Regions from separate parts of the Homo sapiens genome. Here all the other regions are linked to region 3. The links are contacts of gene promoters, found by promoter capture Hi-C in human tissues and cell types (Jung and others, 2019). All regions are on one chromosome and are shown on one strand. Each heading gives the region's core, a stretch centred on a gene start or on the middle of the fragment in contact. The rest is flanking DNA. Distances are from core to core; before and after follow the strand shown.

The links. The method cuts DNA at HindIII sites, captures the fragments that hold promoters and counts their contacts. A contact is called where the count stands out against the background at its distance.
Region 1: a fragment that was not itself captured here is called in contact with the fragment with the promoter of PI16 in region 3 in 1 of the 25 tissues and cell types used here (spleen).
Region 2: a fragment that was not itself captured here is called in contact with the fragment with the promoter of PI16 in region 3 in 15 of the 25 tissues and cell types used here (H1 embryonic stem cells, IMR-90 fibroblasts, aorta and 12 more).

The regions. Positions count from the first base shown.
Region 1 is chr6:37,016,578-37,020,033 of GRCh38, forward strand. All of the region lies in intron 9 of FGD2 (FYVE, RhoGEF and PH domain containing 2), which reads left to right. Among named protein-coding and RNA genes, the nearest start is that of FGD2, 13 kb to the left of the region's middle. The HindIII fragment of the contact is 7,463 bases long and covers 1-3,456 here.
Region 2 is chr6:36,904,001-36,907,659 of GRCh38, forward strand. The region is part of intron 4 of C6orf89 (chromosome 6 open reading frame 89); the gene reads left to right. Among named protein-coding and RNA genes, the nearest start is that of C6orf89, 20 kb to the left of the region's middle. The HindIII fragment of the contact is 3,401 bases long and covers 468-3,659 here.
Region 3 is chr6:36,952,686-36,956,001 of GRCh38, forward strand. It overlaps PI16 (peptidase inhibitor 16), which reads left to right and starts at 2,053. Exons shown (of 7, transcript NM_153370.3): 1 at 2,053-2,246. The coding sequence starts at 2,076. The HindIII fragment of the contact is 39,732 bases long and covers 1-3,316 here.

The DNA.
Region 1 (3,456 bases), core at 70-2,569, 63 kb after region 3:
GGCTGGAGTGCAACAGCAAAATCTCGGCTCACTGCAACCTCCACCTCCTGGGTTCGAGCAATTCTCCTGCCTCAGCCTCCCAAGTAGCTGGGACTGTAGGCGCGAGCCCCCATGCCCGGCCAATTTTTGTATTTTTGGTAGGAGAGATGGGGTTTCACCATGTTGCCCAGGCTGGTCTCAAACTCCTGACCTCAAGTGATTCACCTGGCTTGGCCTCCTAAAGTGCTGGGATTACAGGCATGAGCCACCACACCCAGCCTGTTTTTTATCTTTTAAAAATATTTTAATTTTACTACTTAAAAAATACAGATTATACACATTCTAAAGTCAAACAATATAAAAAATATATACAATGAAAGTCTCCGCCCGACTCTATCCCCTAGTTCCCCTTCCTGAAGGCAATCCTTGCTTCTTGTGAGGCCTTCCAGAGGTGGTCTTCGCCTAGCAAACCAATAACATATAATAGGATTGTTTCCTCATTTATGCAAGAAGCAGTGGTATACTCTACACATTTTTCTGCACTTTGCTTTTTTTTTTTTAACTAACTGCAAATGCTGGAGACTGAGGTGTCCCTGTACTTGAGAGCTTCCTCATCCTCCTGCCCAGCTGCATTGCGTCCCACTGTGCAGATGCACCGGAATTTCTTCAACCAGTCTTCTGCTGAGAGACACTTAGATTGTTTTCAGTTGTCAGCAGCTGCAAATGAGGCTGCAGTGAATAGCCTGGTACAGCCTGCCTGTGTGTGAATGTATCTGCAGTTAATCCCATTTTTAAACATGAGAAAACCAAGGCCCTAGAAAACCTTTCTAACTTAAATAACTTGCTTGAAGGTCATATCGCAAATGCTAGTTCGAGTGACCAAGCCAGGATTCAGATGCAGGTGTAACAAAGGCTGGCGCTTCTGCGTCTAACCACCACGCTCTGCTGTCGCCTATTAAGGCTTCAATCCAGAGGGTTCAAGACTATGGTGGAATTTCTGGCATCGTGGAGGACACAGCCAGAGAAGCTTCCTGACCACCCCTCTCTGCTGGCTCCTGAGTCCTGGTGTGTCCTGAGGGCTGGGACTGGAAGAAGCAGAGGTCTGGTCTGGCCCATCTTGTCACTCTCCTATTCAGCATCACCCCTACCCCCTTCAGCCCCAGAAGGGAGCTGCAGGCAGGAGTTGAACCAGAATGCTCTACCCTCTAGAGCCCCTGGGGCCTCCAGAGACCCCAGCAAAAGAGCCCCACCCCTGCTCCTGACTGGGGTTGCCTGGCATCTGGAGCAATCCAGGGCCTGGGGGTGGGGTGCAGCCTGGGAATGATGAAAGCTGATGAGGGAACATGGGTTCACAGCTCACCCCGACACCTGAGCTGACTGAAGTCTTTTAGGAGTGCAGCCCCGGCCCTGGCATCTAGCTTTCCATCCTGAAGGGGCCAGAATGTCACATAGACCAGGGCGTGTGCAGGCTTGTATGTCTGGAGTCCTTGGTGAGTGAGGCTGAGAAAGGCAGGTTTATAGAGAGCTACAGACAGAGAAATGGAGACGGGTGGCCCTGCCAAAGGACTGTCAGAGACCCAGGCATAGAAAAATAGAGATCGACAGATAGGAAGGCTAAGAAATATAGAAACCAAAACAGAGTCATAGAGAGAAAACAGAGAGAGCCGAGCCTGAGAGCATCAGATGCTTTGGGTGTGTGTTGAGAGCTCACCAGCCCTGTGTGTGCCGGGTCTCTGGAGTCTGCTAGTCTCGGCTAACATGTCTGATACTCCAGCAGCCGCACAGCACCCTCTCCTGGACGGCATGGGCTTGGCAAGTGCAGAGCTGTCCACTCACCCTACTTCTGTGCAGGAACCATTTTCTGAGTCTGTGATTTGGAGGCAAATCTTGCCTTTGACCATCATGATGGTTCCTATTGGCCTATGACTCCCTGGCCTCCTCCTTCCTAGGTGTCAGGGAGGCCTAGTTCACAGCAGCTGATTCTCTCCAAGGTCTGACTTGGTCTTAGTATTTTGCCATCCCCCACAGGGCCAGCCTGGGAAGAAGGAAGGGGTGTGGACACACATACCTAGGGGCTCCACGTACAGTTGTGCAGGTTGTACACTGCACAAGGATACCTCATCTAAGAGGATGTCTTCTGCAGCCAACTGCAGATTAGCAGACTATGATATATCATAGATGGTATATTTATAGTGAGAATTGTCCGGCAGATGGCAGTCAAATGTCTTGTTCCAACAATATCTAGGTATTATGCCAGTTTGCCAACAGATGTCAGTAAAGTGTTTTGAGGAAGGCTGTCCTTTTCTAATTACTACAAACGTACTGTATGGACTAGCAGGGGACTGAATTGACCTAGCCCTGGGGAAAGTGGTTGAGGCTCAGCTCAGCACAGTTCTGGAAACTCCTCTTGAAACCTGCTGGGGAGCTGGAAGCCTCTGTATGAACATCCCAGGGGCAGCCTGGACCCTCAGGTCAGGAGCCCCCAGTTCCCTTTTTTCTGTCAAAAGCATGATATTTCTTCCTGCTTCTGGACTGCAAACCTTGGATTTCTCCCTTCTTTTCCCTTTCCCCTCTCCCTGACCCAGTTAGAAACCTCTTCTGTCTCTCCAGTGCACCTGGGCAGGCCAGGACCATTTATGATGTTGCTTCCTAACTGGCCTTTGGGCTACAGGTTTGTCCCATTTGGCCCACATCCAGCCTGTCATCCCTTGCACACAAAGAGGTATTTGGCTCTTTCCCAAATACCTCTTTCCACATGACCGCCTCCTCATTGCCAAGGGCATCGAATCCAAATCACATCAGCCCCTTCTAAGGCAAAGACTGGGGAGTGAGGCTGCAGACTAGGCCTAACCTGAGGAAAGATGTGCTTGTACTCAGTGCTGTCTGGGTTATGGTGAGCTGCCCTGGAAGTGTGCAAAGGCCTGGCCACCACATGGGAGGCAGCAGAGGAGCTCAAGTGTTTGAGGAATTTAATGGCAACAAAGTTGCCCCACACAGAAGCTCTTGTGCTCTCAGCCTGTGTCTTAGGTTCTCTTTGCAAATCTCTCTCCACACCGTCTGAAGGAAGTGTGCTTACAGGACTCTGGGGGTAGGATGGAAATAGATGTTCTTCCATCTCACCCTTGGGGGCTGAAAACCTGGGGTGGAATCCTTCTTTTGCCCCTTAGGTGCTGTGTGACCTCAGGCAGCTCTCTTGCCCTCTCTGAGCATCCATTTCCTCATCTCCTAAATGAGGATGATAGTATCTGCTTCCCAAGATTGCTGTGAAGATTATTTTCTTCTTCTTTTCTTTTCTTTTCTTTTTTTTTTTTTTTGAGACAGAGTCTCCCTCTGTCACCCAGGCTGGAGTGCAATGGCACAATCTCAGCTCACTGCAACCTCCACCTCCTAGGTTCAAGAGATTATTGTGCCTCAGCCTCCCGAGTAGTTGGGATGACAGGCATGCGCCACCATGTCCAGCTAATTTTTGTACTTTTA
Region 2 (3,659 bases), core at 918-3,417, 49 kb before region 3:
AAAGTGTTTGGAGGAAACAGCGAGAGAAACTTGTCAGTTAGGCCAGTCTGTGCCTCTTCCTCAGACACACCAGTCTCCTTTCCTGACTGTCTTCCCCTCAAAGCCTCCCTAACGGCAACTCCTGATGAGTTTTCCTGACCTGGTTGATGGCATTATCTTCTTCCCCAGTCCTATAAAGTAAATCTCCATACACGGTTGAACTGAGAAATGGGGCATCGTCAATGAACACTGCTCGCTTCTTCTCTAAATCATAGTTTAAACATTCCAGAAACATTAGTGTCTTGTAAACAAGCTGGATTATTTGGACTACTTCAAATCAATATTTTGCCTTGCAGATGGAAATAAAATGAGTCCTTGGAGCTCAGTTGTAGAGAGAGCGAGTGAGCATTGGAAGGGTGTGGCTTTAGCTCTTTAATGTTGTTGATTCTATTAAAGTGCTGTTTTTACTTGTAAATGTGGATGTGGAAGCACCATATTTTCCTATGTATGATAATTCTGGGAAGCTGTAGACATGTGAAACTAACAGCATTTTGCGTAGCATTTGGAAGAAAAGTTAAAAACACGTAATTATATGAAGAGTAAACAGAAACACATGAGGGAGAATTAAGTGCAACTTAATCTGGGCCTGTAAGAGGGCAGGAAAAGTAAAAATATATCATTTTTTAATGTCCTGGTATCAAAAAACAACTACCTTCAGGTTAGGATTAGTTGGCCATACATTTAAAGTAAATGCAAGGGGAGAATGGTGTGACAGATTCCCGAAAGGAAACCCCATATGGTTTCCTGAAGTGCTGGCCTGTCTCACACTCCCAGGGTCATCTGGTGCTCCTTGCAGTGGCACCTCGGGAATGATGGAGGGCAGCTGCAGCCTTGGTGATGTACAAGAGGCACCACCACCAATGACTGGAAGTTTCCCCTGACCCCACCCAGGGAACAAAAAGGTGACAGAGGTGGGGTTCTTTTTCTAGATTTCAGCCTTAGATAGGAAATCCTGCCCCTAAATGCTCTCAATAAGAAGAATGAAGTGACTTTGCAGCGAGTCATGGAAACATCCCGCTCTGCAGCAAAAAATAAGTAAATAAACTGACAGTTGTTTATTACTTACCAGATGCCAGACCCTGTTCAGGGGGCTTTCCATATATCGGCTTATTTAATCTTGACAACATCCCTATAGGGTAGCTTCAGGTTTTATGCCCATTTTACAGATGAGGACACTGAGGCACAGTATGGTTAGGTCACTTGCTCAAGGTCCCAGGTCTGGTCACGGAGCCATGATTTGAACCCAGGCAGCCAGTCTTCAGAGTCTGAGCCCTTCGCCTCTGATGTGAGTAGTCTGTAGCTGTGCAGTAGACCTGAAGAGTCTAGCTTTAAGTCTGATGTTGGAGTTCTACCACTGTCTCTCTCGGATCATCAGTTACTTTCTCTTAACTCCCTAGTCCCTGAAGAGACAATATTCTTTCTGGCTGTTCCAAAGATAAGTGGTCTTCCAAGCTTCTGACCCTTTAGAATTTTCCCGACCTGGTGTTGTCTTAGACATTCAGCCCAGTTCATCCTCCCTAGTCTGCACCCTGACATTCAGCCCAGTTCATCCTCCCTAGTCTGCACCCTTATGGATAATATTTGACTGACTTAATCCTTCCTCTTACTGACCCAGAGTTTTCTCTTTACATTCACATTCTTACTGCTTTTCTCCCCTCCTGGCTTCATATCTTTATAGTCACTTTACTCCTGCCGGCCATCCCCTTGGTTTTTACCATTTCCATGGAATCATTGAGTCTTAAAGCCAGAAAAGAATTTTAGAGTTAATCTAGTACATACCCCATTTTATAAAAGAGGTAACTGAGGCCAGGAGAGGTAAAGGAGCTTGCTTACCCAGCTAAAAGTGGCAAAATCACACTTGAACCCTAGTTTCTTAACTCCCTCTAGCATTCTGTCCAAGATATCACACTTACAGCCTGCCATCTCTGCCCTCAGTCAAGCCAGGCGCTAGCATGTTCAGCCAATTATTTTTTTTACTTTGGTCATTTTCTGGCCAACTTAAAAATAACATATTCATTTCTACTGAGGAAGCCTGGGATAGTTCTCACATACAGTGAAAAGGCACACATTTGGAACTCGATGCATCCCGTAACCTTCAAAGGAAGGATGAAGTAGATCCAGCAACATCAAGAAGTTTTGGAAATAGCAAATCATTTATTGGCCTCAAACTAAGAATCTAGTAAGACTTAGAGAGTCCAGATCTGTGCTCAAAGATGAACTGCTTAGACCGCAAGGAAAACCTTCCTCTTTTATTTGCAAAATAAGCTTACCTTCTGTGATAATAACAGCTCTGTCAAGCACTTACTGTATACCAGGTACTGTGCCGTGCAGTTTATTTCTCAGTCTTCACAGCAGTCACATAAGGTAGATACTGTTTTTATGTTCATTTCAAAGATGAGGAAACTGATGTGCAAGGGGATTGACTGACTTATCTGAAGTCTCACATTTATTTATTTTTAATTTTTTCTTTTGCTGTGTTTTTGATAATAAATTTTCACATTTAGAAACAAATTTTTGTACAAGTGAGAACTCATGAAAATAGACTTTCTCTGTGGTTTGGAGTGGTTCAAATGCATTGCTTCCTGGAGGCAAGGCTGTTGGTGAAATGATTTCTTGGGCTCTTTCCCTCTACGGTGTGTGAAAATGGCTCTGGGCATGGTGCCACACATGCAGGGACCTGGCAGAAGCCTCCTTCATTGTCAAGGCTTCACCCCTGCCTCATGCCCGGGGTACTAGAAGAGGTGCTATGCACAAACAAGCTTCTGGAGAGCAGCCTGATTAAATATTGAGCACACACTAGTGAAAGTCATGGGAACTTTGTCATGGGCTTTGCAGGGTTTTCTTGGCTATATTTATAATGCAAGAAATGATGAAGTTATATTTATTTAATCTTTATTTTGAGGTTTCTGTGAATCCAGATTGCTCATTTGATTTTTCTCCCCATGGACTTAATTCTATTGTTAAAGCTTCTGAAAAATCAGCCTTCCTGCCTGCCTTCCTGCCTTCCTCCCTCCTTCTTTTCCTCCTTCCATCCCTTCCTCCCTCTCCCCAACTTCATTCACTCATTCAGTAAATGTTTATTGAGACCCTGCTATATATGCCAGGCACTGTTCTCAACAAAGCAGTGAACAAAACAGACAAAACCACTGCTCTTGTAGAGCTAGTATTGGCTTTGTTCTTTTCTTTCTTCCCTATCCTTTTTATCCAGAGGGAGTTTTTTGTCCTGGAAAGAAATCTTTTGTTTTGTTTTGTTTTGTTTTGTTTTGTTTTGTTTTTGCCAGGTAAATAATCTATGTAACAGTACTCTCCCCACTCAGAATTCCAGGATATGTTATGGTTGTCTACAGAGAACCAGCCTAAGTGAGTTTTCTTGTAAATAACTCTCAGGCACCAGGAAGCTCCCTGATGGGTGAGACGCTGGCCCATCCATTTTTCTGCCCAGTGCCCAACTTGTAAAGAAGGGTGGATAGTTATGGTCTCTGCACGTTGACTTCAAGGCTGTGTTTTGTCTGAGAGACTGTTTTTGACATCTCCAACAGTGAAATCATTCCAAATCATAGTGAAAACTTGAAATACAAGTTATAAGCTTTATTGAACTTTTATATGTAGGATTTCTCTTC
Region 3 (3,316 bases), core at 803-3,302:
TTTTAATTATTGTAGATTTGTGGTTACATATTAAAATCAGAAACTGTAAGACTTCCAATTTTGTTCTTTTTCAAGATTGTTTTGACTATTTGGGGTCCTTTGAGATTCCATATAAATTTTAGGATGGATTTTTCTGTTTCTATAAAAATATTATGATTTGCATTTCAATAGGGATTGCATTGAATCTGTAGATTGCTTCAGGCAACATTGACACCTTAGCAATATCAAGTCTTCTAATCCATGAATATAGGATGACTTTCCATTTATTTGTGTCTTCTTTCACTTTGTTTGTCAACACTTGTGATTTTCAGCGTACAAGTCTTTTGCTTCCTTGGTTAAGTTTATTGCTAAGGGCCAGGCGCAGTGGCTCACACCTGTAATCCCAGCACTTTGGGAGACCGAGGCGGGCGGATCACGAGGTCAAGAGATCAAGACCATTTGGCCAACATGGTGAAACCCCATCTCTACTAAAAATACAAAAATTTGCCGGGCATGGTAGCAGCTATGGTGGGCAGCATGGTGGGCAAGTAGTCCCAGCTACTTGGGAGGCTGAGGCAGGAGAATCACTTGAACCCAGGAGGCAGAGGTTGCAGTGAGCCAAGATCATGCCACTGCACTCCAGCCTGGGTGACAGAGCGAGACTCCATCTCAAAAAAAAAAAAAAAGTTTATTGGTAAGAATTTTATTCTTTTTATTCTTTTTCATTGCTTTTATAAATGAAATTGTTTTCTTAATTTCCTTTTTGGATTTTTCATTATTAGTGTATAGAAACAACTAATTTCTATGTGTTAATTTTGTATCCTGCAACTTTGCTGACTTTATTAATTCTAATAAGTGTGTGTGTGTGTGTATGTGTGTGTAATCCATCTTGGTTTTGTTTTTATTTTTACTTGGAGACTCAGGCAGGGACAGGTTTTCTTGTCATCTTCCAAAGCCTGTGGGTAGACTTTTTCTAGGTCCCTATTCATTGAAGAAGCAGGCTTCAAGGATCCCAGCTGTCCTCAAGAGTACTGGTTCCAGCTTCCTGCTTCATGAACCGGTCATGGCCCCTGCAAGGTCAAGGTCATTATAATGCCAGCACCTGACTGCTAAGGCTATTTCCCTTCCAATACCTTCCCCTCAGAGCTCCTGGTGCATCAGCTCATTCAACCTTCTGCTTTTCTGCTCTCTCTTGATTTAAGAAACAGACACATTATATTTCTACATAGTTAGAGCACAGGGGTCCCAGCATCCCACTTCCAAATGAGCATGTCAAGCACATGCATTCAGAGAGGATACCTGGAAGCCAAAATTTTGCCATAGTGAAAGGCCTTATTCCTGAATACAGCTAGAGTGGGGAAGACCTTGGCCTCTCCCCCCGCAGGCAAGAATGTTGCCTCCACAGGGGGCTGGTAGCCTGCTAAGGCCCAGGCCACATGAGTGGGTTGTCTACTGTTACTGAGGGCCTACTATGTGCCAGACACCATACTAGGTGCTTTACATACATTATATGTCATTGAATCTTCCCTCTAGTCCTGTGAGATAGGTACTATTATTGTCACTGATTCACTTGAGAAAGCTGCCAAAACACAGATAGCAAGGGGCAGAACCAGGATTCTGATTTAGGTTGGCTCAGCCTTTTATCAAATACATCTGGTCTTCCTCTGTCCTTTCAAAAGCCTATAGCTTCCTCATCTTGCCCACTCCTCTGTGGGTAGGGTCTGTGGTTTCCTTTCTCTTATCTATCTTCAACACACAGTGGGTGTGACCTGGGTGCAACCAGTCACAGCTCTGCAGAGGTTACTGTGATTTTGCCCCTGAAGGATCTGTCCACAACTTAGGAACTCACACAGCTTTTGGCCTGAGCCCCCGTTACCAAGAGAAAGGAGGTTTTTGCCAAGGACTCCAAGGGGAGTGCACTTGATGCTGGTCGGGACCCAAAGCGCCCAGCCCTCCCTGAGACATTGTGTGAGTCGGGCTGGGCCTCAAACACGGCCCCCACTGCCCCACCCCAGCCAGGGTGGTGCTTGTGTGGGAAGGACTTTAAATCCAGCTGCCAGACCCCTGGACGGGAGAAGGAGAGACGGCTGGCCACCATGCACGGCTCCTGCAGTTTCCTGATGCTTCTGCTGCCGCTACTGCTACTGCTGGTGGCCACCACAGGCCCCGTTGGAGCCCTCACAGATGAGGAGAAACGTTTGATGGTGGAGCTGCACAACCTCTACCGGGCCCAGGTATCCCCGACGGCCTCAGACATGCTGCACATGGTAAGTGTGGCCACGGCCCTTGCTGGCTGGGATGGAAGGGGTGCTGGCCAGGGTCTGTCACCAGGCTCTCTTACCCTGCTCCTCATGCTGAAGCTATTTCAGAATTCCTCTCCTTTTTCTGGTCAGTGACAGAGTCCCCGAGTCCCTGACATGGTATTACATTACTTTAAATGGCAAAAACCACAATTACTTTTGCACCCGCCTAATAAAATTCACAGGCCCCTATAAGCAGCCTCATAATACAGATAAGGAAAGTGAGGCTCAGAGGGATTTGTTGGGGTCACACAGCTGGTAGAGCCAGACCCAAAGCCCTGGCTTCCCACTCCAATGAGCTTTCCCCAGCACTTCCTCAAATGCATGTGCCCTCAGTGGGGGAACCCGGGAAGTTCTTAACACCTTTGTGAAAACGGTCTTTCACATGCCTGCCAAGGAGAGGACAAGAGGAAGCAGGGCAGCAGGATGGGCGTGGGCACGTGGAGTAGGAGGCAGGTGCTAAGGAGGTGGGTGACAGCAGGATCCAGAAGCAGAGAGGGCTCTGGATCACACAGTCCAAATTCTGTCTCGGTCACCTACAAGACCTATGATTCGAGGCAAGTCCTGTAACCTTGCCGATCCCGTGTCTCATCTGTAAAAGGCGGTCAGAATTAGAGCTACGTATATACCAGTGTGGATTGAATCTCACAGATATCATACTGAATGGGGGAGGAAATAAAATCTCTAAAAAATACACAGTAGGATCTCTTTACATGAAGTCTGAAAACATGTAAAAATACTATTTATGTCCTGGTGAAACACGCAGATGTAGTAAACATTACATGTACATGCACACAGGAGACAGAAGCCAGATTTAGGGTTGGTTACTTCTGTCAGGAAGAGCTATTTATGGTAGGGTGAGAGGCGGGCTGTCTATATGCAGAATTAAAGGAGATAAAGTGAGAAATTCACCCACTTCCTGCCCTCCCTGAGGGCTGAACTAGCTTGTCCCCTCCAGCCACCCTCAGGTGACTGGGGAGGTTGCTGGGCAGTGTTCAGGGACCCCTGGAGCTGGTGCCTGAGAGAACAGATGCACC